Linked DNA regions of Homo sapiens: all the other regions are linked to region 1. The links are contacts of gene promoters, found by promoter capture Hi-C in blood cells and fetal thymus (Javierre and others, 2016). All regions are on one chromosome and are shown on one strand. Each heading gives the region's core, a stretch centred on a gene start or on the middle of the fragment in contact. The rest is flanking DNA. Distances are from core to core; before and after follow the strand shown. Region 1 holds the start of GPX8 (glutathione peroxidase 8 (putative)). Region 2 has its middle 21 kb from the start of SNX18. Region 3 overlaps SNX18 (sorting nexin 18). Region 4 has its middle 30 kb from the start of HSPB3.

Region 1 (3,055 bases), core at 444-2,943:
CGAGCGGTTCCTCTCACAAGTTTTACACAGTAGGCTATGGGCTTTGCTCAGCCACCCGAAAACACACATGCCACAGAGCGGGAACCAGAAGAGCAGGCAGCACCCTGAGCACCCTCTCTGAAGCTCCACAAGCTAACAGTGACAGGAAGGGCACTCCACAAACATCTCAGCTCATTCCCTGCACTTTCTGGAAACACATCATGATCAAATGGCATAATGCCCCTTCATCCAGATCTTGCCATGAGTCTTAAACAGAGCAGAATTGAAAGTGAATGGCTTTTAGGATATACAGCCCTCAATTGCCTCCCCATACCTACCCCTAAAATTCATGACCGTTAGCAACAGCAAAGTTAGGCCCCCTGTGCCAGGCAACAGCCAGGGGAGGGAAATAAAGAGAAAAAACGAAGCAATTAGATGACGTGCCCAAGTAGAGGTGGGTTTTGCAGGGTTTGTTTGTTTTCAGGGATTTTTTTTGGTAGAATTGCCTTATTTAACTGTTAAATTACTACTTTATTATCGAGTTCAATTTTTGCTTTTTTCCCTCTTCTTCTTTTGTTCTGATTTTAAGATAGTCTCACTCTGTCACCCAGGCTGCAGTCTACAAACACGACTCACTGCAGCCTCAACCTCCTGGGATCAAGCGATCCTCCCACCTTTGCCACCTGTATAACTGGGACCACAGCCATGCACCACCACAACCAGCTAATTAAAATTCTTTTTTAGAGACAGGGGTATCGCTTTCTTGCCCAAGTTGGTCTTGAACTCATGGGCTCAAGTGATCCTCCCATCTAGGCCTCCCAAAGTGCTGGGATTACAGGCGTGAGCCACCATGCCCGGCCTCAGTTTTTTCCATCTACAGGTTGTAGTGCATCGGTGAATGATGAAATCATTTTGATAGGTCAGAACTGGGTTGTTTAAAAATGCAACAGGTGGGGGTGCATCACAGTTCAAAGGAGAAGTGTTGTTTCTCAGTTGTGTGTTGTTTGTACCCAGTTATGTTGTAAAGTGCACTGCTGACTGGGGGTCATGAGTAGAAATTTGAAAAACACTGGACTATAGTTTGCTCTATGATAGAGAAGGGTTTCTTTTAACACCTTCACTGTTTTTAACATATTTATTTTGACTGTATTCACTTGGTATTTGATTGCCTTAGCTAGATGAATCAGGGTAAATAGCCTTTTTCAGATATTTCCCTGCTCTTTCCACTATAAATTTCCTGAACTCATATAGCATGTTTAACCCATACATGTAATAGTAACGTCCTTCAGGGTATACACCATATGAGTAGGTCACATTTAATCTACATTCTAAACTATTGCTGAGCATCGTACTCCATCCTCTGCATCCAAACAGTTGCTCAATAAATACACAGCTTAGCATGGGGAATGAGCCCTCCGTAGCTTTCGAGTTACAAGAGCACCATCTTCTGGCGAAATATTTTCTTTGTAGGGAGAATGTCAAAGACCTACCAAAAATGTCCTGATTTTTCTAGCAAAAATTATAATTACATCACAAATACTTTGAAATTCTGTAGAGCTCCTTGCTTCATTCAGGAGTTTCGCTTCATTTCCCCTCTGAGAAGTGGTCTTTCTGTTCCTTAGCAGTGAAAGCAGTCAGCCTGTCCTTCCTGGTTTTCCGTTAAACTAAGCCGGTTTCAAGTTTCAGCTCCTCCTTGAATTCCAGGCTGCTGAGACTTCCCTCTAGAATCCTCCAACATGGAGCCTCTTGCAGCTTACCCGCTAAAATGTTCCGGGCCCAGAGCAAAGGTATTTGCAGTTTTGCTGTCTATAGTTCTATGCACAGTAACGCTATTTCTTCTACAACTAAAATTCCTCAAACCTAAAATCAACAGCTTTTATGCCTTTGAAGTGAAGGATGCAAAAGGAAGAACTGTTTCTCTGGAAAAGTATAAAGGCAAAGTAAGTTGCATCATCTGATTTTTATTGTTATCATTTTTCCTTGTCTCTGTTTATTCCTCTTAATAAAATCAATTTTTTGCTGTTACATGGTCATAAGTTGGAATTTAGTCTTCAGAGTAATGGTATTAGTACATCACTTTAGTTATTACAGTTCTGATAGTTTGCTTCTAAATAATAAATTCCGATTATCTCGTTTTCTTTAAAATGCTTTAATTTTGTGCTGAATTGACATGTAAAGTTGTTTGGAAAATACTTATAGTTAGTAATGTGAACATGATGACATTTATTAATAAAAGTATTGGTTCTATAATCTAATAACTTTAAAAAGAACTTATCAAGGATCATAGTTTTATCTTTAATTTAAAAATAAACTTTCATGAGTATCTAATGCTTTTTTAATGGCAGTACTATTTCAGGGCCTTAACCCAGGCATCTAGGTTACAGTTTTCAATAGAACTGTGTATGTCCAAAAATATGAAAAAAACATCAATCAGAGGTTATAGTCCCCCCCAAATTGTTTAGGATTTTAACTACTTGCAGAATTTTTTAAAATCTTTTGCTTCACTTTCCGGTTGGATTTTTTTCTTTTTCCGGGAGGTTTCACTAGTTGTAAACGTGGCCAGTGACTGCCAACTCACAGACAGAAATTACTTAGGGCTGAAGGAACTGCACAAAGAGTTTGGACCATCCCACTTCAGCGTGTTGGCTTTTCCCTGCAATCAGTTTGGAGAATCGGAGCCCCGCCCAAGCAAGGAAGTAGAATCTTTTGCAAGAAAAAACTACGGAGTAACTTTCCCCATCTTCCACAAGATTAAGATTCTAGGATCTGAAGGAGAACCTGCATTTAGATTTCTTGTTGGTAAATATCTGCCTTGCATATGCTGTTTTAAATTGCTTTTCATTTTTAAACAATTATACCAGGACAATACTTTCCTATTTCATTTGAAACGTTGTATCGGGAAAGCTTCATAAAACTATCATCAAAGAGCCAGAATCTCATCCTTTGTAACTTCTAGGAGTTATGCTCCCCTGAAATCAATGTTTTAGCTTCTTAGATGGTAAAAGAATTCTATTCCAATATATTTTATTCCTTATTACCATCTTCCTGAAGAATTTACTTAAAGTGTGCCCATGGC
Region 2 (3,085 bases), core at 520-3,019, 660 kb before region 1:
CTTCTCCTCCTTTCCCCAAAACTTGTTCCCCACCTGAATTCTCTACTTGTTACAGTCACCATTCATCCATCCCGACCTCCTCCTCTTCATACCTTTGCATCAAGGCTTGCCAGTTTTACCTTCTAAGCATTGTTCTTCTGCCCTTTTCTTGACCTCCCAACTGCCATTGTCTATCTTTATCATGTGTCAATCCAGTAGTTCCCTGAAGTAGCTTCTAGCATCATGCTGGCCACCATTCTATGATGTCTTACTACTGCCTGAGCTTGTCATTTCTCTCATTTCAAACACCTTTCATCCTCATACAGTCCAATTTCCTTACACATGTTTTTGCCTTAATTCCTTCTACATCTCACCTTGTGTTGTTTTACACTGTAATATTACTTATTTCTTGTATTTCCTAATATCCACCATGGCATTTAACATTTTTTGTGTCTTTGATGCTCTTCCTACCTGGAATACCAATCCTGTTTTTGACTAATTCCAACTCATTTAAAAATTTTGATCAGCATGGGACATGGTGGCTCATGCCTGTAATCCCAGCACTCTGGAATGCTGAGGCAGGAAGATCAACTGGAGACCAGCCTGGCAACATGGCATGACCCCCATCTCTACACAAAATTTTTTTTTTTTTGAGACAATGTCTCGCTCTGTTTCCCAGACTGGAGTGCAGTGGTGAGATCTCAGCTTACTGCAACCGTCACCTCCTGGGTTCAAGCGATTCTCCTGCCTCAACCTCCCAAGCAGCTAGGATTACAGGCATGCGCCACCACGCCCAGCTAATTTTTGTATTTTTAGTAGAGACGGTGTTTTACCATGTTAGCCAGGGTGGTCTCGAACTCCTGACCTCATGTGATCCACCTGCCTCGGCCTCCCAGAGTGCTGGGATTACAGGTGTGAGCCACCATGCCTGGCCACAATTTTTTTTTTTTTTTTTAATTAGCCAGGCATGGTGGTGCACACCTGTAGTCCAAGCCAGCTGGGAGGCTGAGGTGGGAGTGTTACCAGGATGTGTGGAGTCCTCTGTTCTTAGTCTTCTTGGGAGAAGAAATTTGGCCAAGAGACCAATTAGTAAAGTAAACAAAGACATATTAAGGAAATAAGAATATGCTCCAAGAGAGGAGTGGGCTGACCCTGCTGGGAGCAGTAGTAGTAGCAGTCTGTTTAAAGAGATAGTATGCTCTGAAAGAAAAGTCAGAGTGGGCTGCTGGAAAGAGAATGAGCCAGCAGCCCCTAGGGTTCTGCATTGAGATTTTTGTTATGTTGGGACTGTTTCTTTAAGTTCCCACCTCTGTCTCAAGTCTCCACCTCTATCTTTATCTAGCTTCCCCCTTCTGCATTAAGTCCCTGCTTTTTTCCTGCCTAGTTCCTGCTCTAGGTTTATGGGATTCTCCTTTACTGGTAGTTAAGGCACATGCAAGGACTGGTGTTGGGTACAATCCTAATGGCAGCTTTGCTTATTACCCTCTAGCGTTGCCCTCTAGGAAGGTCATATAGCAGTTATATGTGTACATATTACCCCTGCATATCTCTCAGACTCTTAGAAATTTCCCCTTTGCCCTTTTTTTTTTTTTTGAGACAGAGTCTCAATTGTGCAGGCTGGAGTGCAGTGGCATGATCTCGGCTCACTGCAACCTCTGCCTCCCAGGCTCAAGCCATTGACCTGCCTCAACCTCCTGAGTAGCTGGAATTACAGGCACTTGCCACCATGCCCAGCTAATTTTTGCATTTTTAGTAGAGACAGGGTTTCACCATGTTGGCCAGGCTGGTCTTGAACTCCTGAACTCAGGTGATCCACCCACCTCGGCCTCCCAAAGTTCTGGGATTACAGGCGTGATCCACTGTGCCCAGCCATCCCCTCCTTATCAGCATGTGGCTAGCTCCATTCTGACCGATTAGCTGCAGCGTGAGTGATTACTGGGCATCTTAAGAGTTGTTCTGAGGTGTTTCTTCGTGCACAGGTATTTTCCCTCCTTTATGCTCATATCTAGCATGCAGATTTCCAGTGGTCTCTGAGGTGTGAGATTTTCCAGACCTCCCTTTCTTCAGGCTCCCCCTCCTGCTCATGTCTAGGTATCTGCCTGCTGTAACAGGAGAACTGCTTGGGCCCAGGAGTTCAGGCTGCAGTGAGCCATATTTTGGGGTGAAATTCCCTGTGCTCCCTCAGTATGTCCACATAATGGGATATTATGTTGCTATAAAAAATGAGAACACTCTATTAATTGGGTCCAGGACAAGTCACGCCAAAATATGACTTTAGGAGACCAGAATATGCCAGGCCAAAATATGTCTCTTTAACATAAGGATTATTTTGAGCTGTTATTTTGAGAAATTGTAGACACAGTAGAGGCTCTGAAAAGTTATCCTGTGTGAGAGAAATTTACATCTATCAAAGAAATCTCCATTTGTGAGACTGTGTCCCTGTCTACACCAGGAAGAGGAGGACACTAGATCACTAGACTCTTAATCAATGGAGAAGGCATTGACTTAAATCTGCATAGCAGAACTTACCTTTGTTTATGGTGCTTTTCCTGGTCATCTTGTCATACTGAAACTGCTGTTGCAAAATTATAACTGAGACAGTAAAAGAGATCTGACCTAACTAACTCCATCTTGCTTCTAACCTCCAAGCTGTCCTTGTTTATTCGTGGGTGTAGGCCAAACTAACATCAGGAGAAACTTAGTTTATAATTTAAAACAAAGACAATAACAGCCCTTTCCCAAAACAGACCTGCTGAGACCAGCTCGGTCGGGGAGACCCTAACTCAGCAGCGCTAGAGGAATTAAAGACACACACACAGAAATATAGAGGTGTGAAGTGGGAAATCAGGGATCTCATAGCCTTCAGAGCTGACAGCCCCAAACAGAGATTTACCCACATATTTATTAACAGCAAACCAGTCATTAGCATTGTTTCTATAAATATTCGATTAACTAAAAGTATCCCTTATGGGAAAGGAAGGAATGGGCCGAATTAAAGGAATAGGTTGGGCTAGTTAACTGCAGCAGGAACATGCCCTTAAGACACAGATCGCTCATGCTATTGTTTGTGGTTTAAGAATGCCTTTAAGTTGTTTTCCGCCCTGGG
Region 3 (2,701 bases), core at 15-2,514, 630 kb before region 1:
TTGAAGACTTCCTGAGTGCCAGGCATGGTGCTTTGTGTTTTATATTCATTATATCTATTTAAGCTTCAGAGGAGCTTAAAAAAGTATTTACCTCAAAAAAGCTGAGGTAAATACTCTTCTTATACCCATTTTGCAGACAGGAGCTGAACCACAGAAATTTTTTTTTTTTTTTTTTTTTTTTTTGAGACAGTTTCGCCCTTGTTGCCCAGGCTGGAGTGCAGTGGCGTGATCTCGGCTCACCATAACCTCCACCTCCTGGGTTCAAGCGATTCTCCTGCCTCGGCCTCCTGAGTAGCTGGGATTATAGGTGCCCGCCACCACACCCAGCTAATTTTTTGTATTTTTAGTAGAGACGAGGTTTCATCATGTTGGCCAGGCTTGTCTCAAACTCCTGACCTCAGGTGATCTACCCGTCTCGGCCTCCCAAAGTGCTGGAATTACAGGTGTGAGTCACCCTGCCCATCCAAACCACAGAAATTTAAACTGCGAGTTCCTGGAAGCATCCTTCACTGGTGCACCCTGGCTCCCTGAGGCAGGGCTTTTGGAAGTTACTCCTGTTGGTTGGGCAGAGATGAGGAGGCTCTTAGAGTACTCCAGGGGAAGAGTTGGCTTTGGAAAGGAACAGGTGAACTCGAGACACCTGCCAGGTATCATGGCAGGACCTGGTGAGGCGCTGGCTCTCCTGAGGAATCTAGTGTTACCTTAGAGGTTTTAAGTTTGGGTGGTAGAAAGTAGTGAAGCCAGTGATAGAAGAGGTAGGCAGACTGAGAAGAGGAGCAGGACTAAAAGGAAAGACAAGGAATGGGGCTGAAGGGAGTCTTAGAAAATCCTTTTTCTTTTATTGTGTTTTTATTGTGTTTAGTTATGTTGACATTTGCGATTTTCACCAAAGCCACGTGTTGTCTACAGCAAGACATTTTTAACTAAATGCTGATAGATGTTAGTGTGGATAATCTGTAAATTTTCACGTTTTATGATTTGTATTTCACATATATTTTAAAACTTGATACAATTTTAGATGCTTTGTTCTGTCTTTAGTTGGTTATTTATGATTTCATACAAGGATGTCCGGATGTGGTCAGAGTAAAGACTCACAGCCACCGGACACCTGGGCCCTGCCAGTGCGAGGCAGCGGGAAAACCACAGGAGTGAGGCGTGTCCTTACATTTAAAACAGCTGAGTTAGGAATTATCTCCACAGCCTCGTGATCGTGAAGGGATGTGAAGCAGCACTCAGGATAACGAAGAGTGCTTGTGCTGCTCACCAGTCGGTACCACCGTGGCATACATGGCAATTGGGACAATGGAGTTTACAATTTCAGACAAAAACTGGAAAATTACTTGAAAACGAGAAATGCATTATTTGCAGATATTCTGCTAACTCCAGCATGAACCACAGTGCACTCAGATAGGGTCCCATAAGTGCCCTGGCTCTGCGTGTGTGCTCTATCTTGCCTTGCCTTGGCTTCTCTCGTAAAGAGCAGGGGCCACTTTACTCTCTTCCTGGCCCCATCTAGAGGGACTTCTGTTTAGATTTATTTTAGCAGCTTCTATTTAGATTTATTTTGGCTTGGGTCTCCCTTTATCTTTCTAGAAAAAAAGAAAATAAGGTTTTACCTTTCATTAAAGGTACTTTCCCAAGTTCACTCTTTGGTACAGATATGCTTGTTGTATGTCACGTGTCGAAAGTGTTGGCAGCTTGCAAACATATCTATTGTTGCTTTTTTTTTTTCTTTTTTTTTTTTTGTAGAGACCAGTATGCGTGCACATGCCTCAGGTAATTAAAGAACTGGGCACTGCAGACCTGAGGCCCCTATTTGTGTTCTCTGAATTTGAACCATTATATGGGTTTTACTTTTACAAAGTTAGTTTTTTAAAAGTTTCATTGTATGGTCAGCATTATCAAGGATAGTATGTCTACCTTATTTTATTAAGATTCTGTGGGTATCAGATCTTTAAGAAAAGAAACAATACATGGTTTTCTTTCTTACTCTCAAATTTTAAAGTCTTCATCTATATTTGCTTGGCTACAGGCAAATCAACATTGCCACCATACCCAAAAACACTTCTCAAATAAAGACACTGTGTTTTCAGAATTCTCCTGAAACTATCACCCTAGTAATTTTATCACGTTTAATATTCATTATGGGCTGGAACACAAGAACCTTTATGTATATAAAATTACCAGCAAGAAACAGTTTTACCAAATAAACCACAAGAGGTACAATCATGTGATTTCTCTCTTCATTTTTGGAATGAGGTAAACTGTATGACTATATATGCATAGTAACTAAAATAATCATCTTTTAAGGTATTTATACGCAAGTGAATATTTGTATTCAAACTGAATGTCATTCTGCCTTTAGACATTAGGTGATTGCTGAATGAAGCTATAAGAACTACTTAATTAGAATATTATAACAATGCTTTTACCTGAAACAGACTAATGATATTTTCAGGATGAAATCAAGCTTAGAGGCCTGAATTCTTTAAGTGATTTTTTTTCCATCAAGTGACCAGGTTTTTTTCTTTTTGCAGTTGACTATGCTTGTCTTGATCCTCTTCCCTCCTTTTCAAAATGGTTCAAAAGTTCTCTTTGTCATTTATTATATTTATGAATTAAAAAGTGAATTTTAAATTACCTTTGAATTTTGATAGTTATTAGCTTTAGGGACCTTCATTAGTCCATTCAGAAAATTGCT
Region 4 (3,102 bases), core at 132-2,631, 730 kb before region 1:
GGAAGTAACTAGTTCTAGATGGCATTTGCTCCAGTAGGTTTTGCTTTTCCTGATTCACTGTTTGCACCTCCACGTCCCCACCCACCCCATGTAAGAGTAGGGGACTATGCCTAGAAGTACCGTGATAGTGCAGTTGGCACACACGTTTCATGGGAACTTCTGGAAATAAAATGGGTGGCAGGGGTGGAATATGAGTTTAAAATACACACTCAGAACTGATTATTTCAAACCACCTCTTACCATCTGAAAATTGGTTTTGTGTGTGTATTTTAAACATACATTCCCCCTTATTTTATTTCTAGAAGTTTTCACGAAATGCCTGTGCCAACCGCCTGGCATTTTCCTCCATTTTCATGGCACTTCCAGGCATAGTCCTTTAATCTTTTTTTTTTTTTTTTTTTTTAGATGGAGTCTTGCTCTGTCACCCAGGCTGGAGTGCAGTGGCATGACCTTGGCTCACTGCAACCTTCACCTCCCGGGTTCAAGCCATTCTCCAACCTCAGCCTCCTGAGTAGCTGGGATTACAGGTGCCCACCACCACACCCCGCTAATTTTTGTATTTTAAGTAGAGACGAGATTTTGCCATGTTAGCCAGACTGGTCTCAAACTCCTGACCTCAAGTGACCCACCCGCCTTGGCCTCCCAAAATGCTGGGATTACAGGTATGAGCCAGTGCACCTGGCTGAGTTCTCTAATCTTATATGGAGTAGTTGGAGATTGGGGGTAAATAGCCACTTCACAGTGTAGCCCAGTGGTTAGGAGCATGGACTGTAGGGCTTCACTGTTCCCATCCCTGCACGTTTCCTCCCTGCAAGCAAGCTATTTAAACTTTCTGTGCCTCCATTTTCTATTCTGGAAAAGGTCGTCGTAAAGCCTAAGAGCAGCAAATGAAGAGTTTCATATATGGCCAGCAACACATTAAGCACTTAGAAGCTAGCTACTGTTATTATTACTACAAAATTATTTTTAGCCACTCGGAAGACATCATTCTCTTACAGAGTTCCAACTGAAGTGTAAAAGAAATAGGAAGCCATAATACAAGACATAATAAGAAACGGCAAGGTGGTAAGCTTCAGATTTGGAGGTCAGCTATATTTCCTGTCTTCTTGGTAGAAATTAGCATTAAGTTTTAGAAAAATCAGCTTTTGTTTACAGAAATTGCAGGATAACAAGTGATTGGGCTGCTTACCTTTAACCCTTCAGTGTTGGAGGATGCTCATGTCTAGAAGTTACAGCTGGGATATCTGACACTGTTAATGAGCTTCTCTTCCTGAGAATCCTAGGAAGCCTGGTGCCTTCTGAGAGCCCCAGCAAAGGGGCTTCCCCTTATGTCATGTTTCTCTTTTTGGCCTCCACTCACTTCAGATACCACTAGAAAGGATTTAATGGGCTATTAGTATCTATTTCTTTTCCACCATGCTTTTCTTCCCAGGTATTTTCTATCCATGCCCATGTATTGGATGGGCTAACACAAAGCCTCCCCTTTCTTATAAGCTGCTATGTATCGCCAGCCTCTGGTGCTCCCTTGCCCAGAGAGAAGCAAAAACCAGTCAGCGTTTGAGAGAATTGCCTGCAGCTGACTTCTAGGCTGGGCACTGTCAACCTTAGTTACTACTTTCTTTCCAAGAAGCATAAGCAGATATCTTTTTCTAATGTTGTGGATTTTAAAAATATGTAGCATGTTAATCTTTTGAAGCTTTGAAAATTAAATTGTGTTTTTCCTGCTCACTTTTCCCATAGGCCACTTCTCTTGGTTTATATGATAGGAAGGGAATTGATAAGAGAATCCTGAGTTGCTGTCACTGTATATGAGTTTATCATCTCCTTCACAGTGGGCACTTGGCTCATCAGCCACAGAATATCCAATGTTCTGAATCAACAGCCTGCAGCAGGATGGCATCAACAGAAAAATCAGGCTGACATGCCCACAAAAAAACCACCCTTTCTCCAAAAACTATTGGAAACAGCCTCTTTGAGTCCTCAAAAGCAAAAAATATTGGGGACCAGACACGGTGGTTCACGTCTGTAATACCAGCACTTTGGGAGTCCAAGGTGGGTGGATCACTTGAGGTCAGGAGTTCGAGACCAGCCTGGCCAACATGGTGAAACCCCGTCTATACTAAAAATACAAAAATTAGCTGGACATGGTGGAACACACCTGTAATCCCAGCTACTCAGGAAGCTGAGGCAGGGGAATGGGAGAATGGCTTGAACCCGAGAGGTAGAGGTTGCAGCAAGCTGAGGTCATGCCACTGCACTCCAGCCTGGCCAACAGAGCTAGACTCCATCTCAAAAAAAAAAAAAAGAAAAGAAAGAAAAAAAAAGAAAAAATTGACTTTTCTTTCCATTGAGAAGAAATTGTTTTTGAACCATGTGGGCAGGGGTATAATTCCTCCACTGTGCTTCACTATGCTTCTGGTTGTGTTATTGCTGGTCCCATAGCTTCAAATTATATAGGTGATTTGCATGAAGAAAGGGAAAGAAGAAATTTCTCTGGAGGGGAAAGACGGTGGTAAGACCACTACCTTCTTCATTTCCCTTTTTTCTGGCTCAACCTCAGAAACTAGGTCTGATTTCTGGATTTAGGGGTGTTAGGCAGTGGTTGAAAGAGCTGTTGAGACTCTGGGGTACAAAGCAGTGCCTTCTCCAGTTTTATAGGGCCAAATGTCACCTCTGAGCAGCTGGAGAGATGTTTTCTCTATTTCTGTGGTATGCCATGTATATAGTGTTTGGGGAGAAATAAGGCCAGAAGTCACATGGCCCCTTCAGCATGTGGAGGGATTTGCAGCTGTGGAACCCAGGAGTGCTCAGGAAGTGGGGGCAGCCTCGCTGAAGAGCTAGGAGCAGCAGACATCAGCAGGAAGAGCAGAGGATAACATCAAGAGGAATCGTGCCTGACACCACCCTGCATGTCCAGGGTTATTTCTGGGAAAGCCAAAGCCTAAGGGGTATTGGGTTTGCTCAAGACTCAAGTCACCTATGGGTAGGTGGTGGCCAATAATCCGGCAAAGTGGGGCTAAAGACAAACTAGACAGCTTGGGCATGAGGTTTGAAAATAGGAGGTCTGGGATGTTTGGGTTACAGTCAAAAAACTAACATGGC

Evidence for each region. Contacts are between HindIII fragments. The CHiCAGO score rates a contact against its expected background, and 5 or more counts as called.
Region 2: a fragment that was not itself captured here is called in contact with the fragment with the promoter of GPX8 in region 1 in 1 of 17 cell types (total CD8 T cells); the score reaches 5.3 in total CD8 T cells.
Region 3: a contact is called between a fragment that was not itself captured here and the fragment with the promoter of GPX8 in region 1, in 7 of 17 cell types (total CD8 T cells, total CD4 T cells, activated CD4 T cells and 4 more). The highest score is 7.9, in total CD8 T cells.
Region 4: a fragment that was not itself captured here is called in contact with the fragment with the promoter of GPX8 in region 1 in 1 of 17 cell types (neutrophils); the score reaches 5.1 in neutrophils.

What each region holds. Positions count from the first base shown.
Region 1 is chr5:55,158,478-55,161,532 of GRCh38, forward strand. It overlaps GPX8 (glutathione peroxidase 8 (putative)), which reads left to right and starts at 1,694. Exons shown (of 3, transcript NM_001008397.4): 1 at 1,694-1,919; 2 at 2,517-2,778. The coding sequence starts at 1,716. The region is part of intron 2 of CDC20B (cell division cycle 20B); the gene reads right to left. The HindIII fragment of the contact is 5,226 bases long and covers 1-2,881 here.
Region 2 is chr5:54,495,490-54,498,574 of GRCh38, forward strand. No RefSeq gene overlaps it. Among named protein-coding and RNA genes, the nearest start is that of SNX18, 21 kb to the right of the region's middle. The HindIII fragment of the contact is 3,542 bases long and covers 1-3,085 here.
Region 3 is chr5:54,530,588-54,533,288 of GRCh38, forward strand. All of the region lies in intron 1 of SNX18 (sorting nexin 18), which reads left to right. Among named protein-coding and RNA genes, the nearest start is that of SNX18, 14 kb to the left of the region's middle. The HindIII fragment of the contact is 2,407 bases long and covers 62-2,468 here.
Region 4 is chr5:54,423,932-54,427,033 of GRCh38, forward strand. No RefSeq gene overlaps it. Among named protein-coding and RNA genes, the nearest start is that of HSPB3, 30 kb to the right of the region's middle. The HindIII fragment of the contact is 626 bases long and covers 1,069-1,694 here.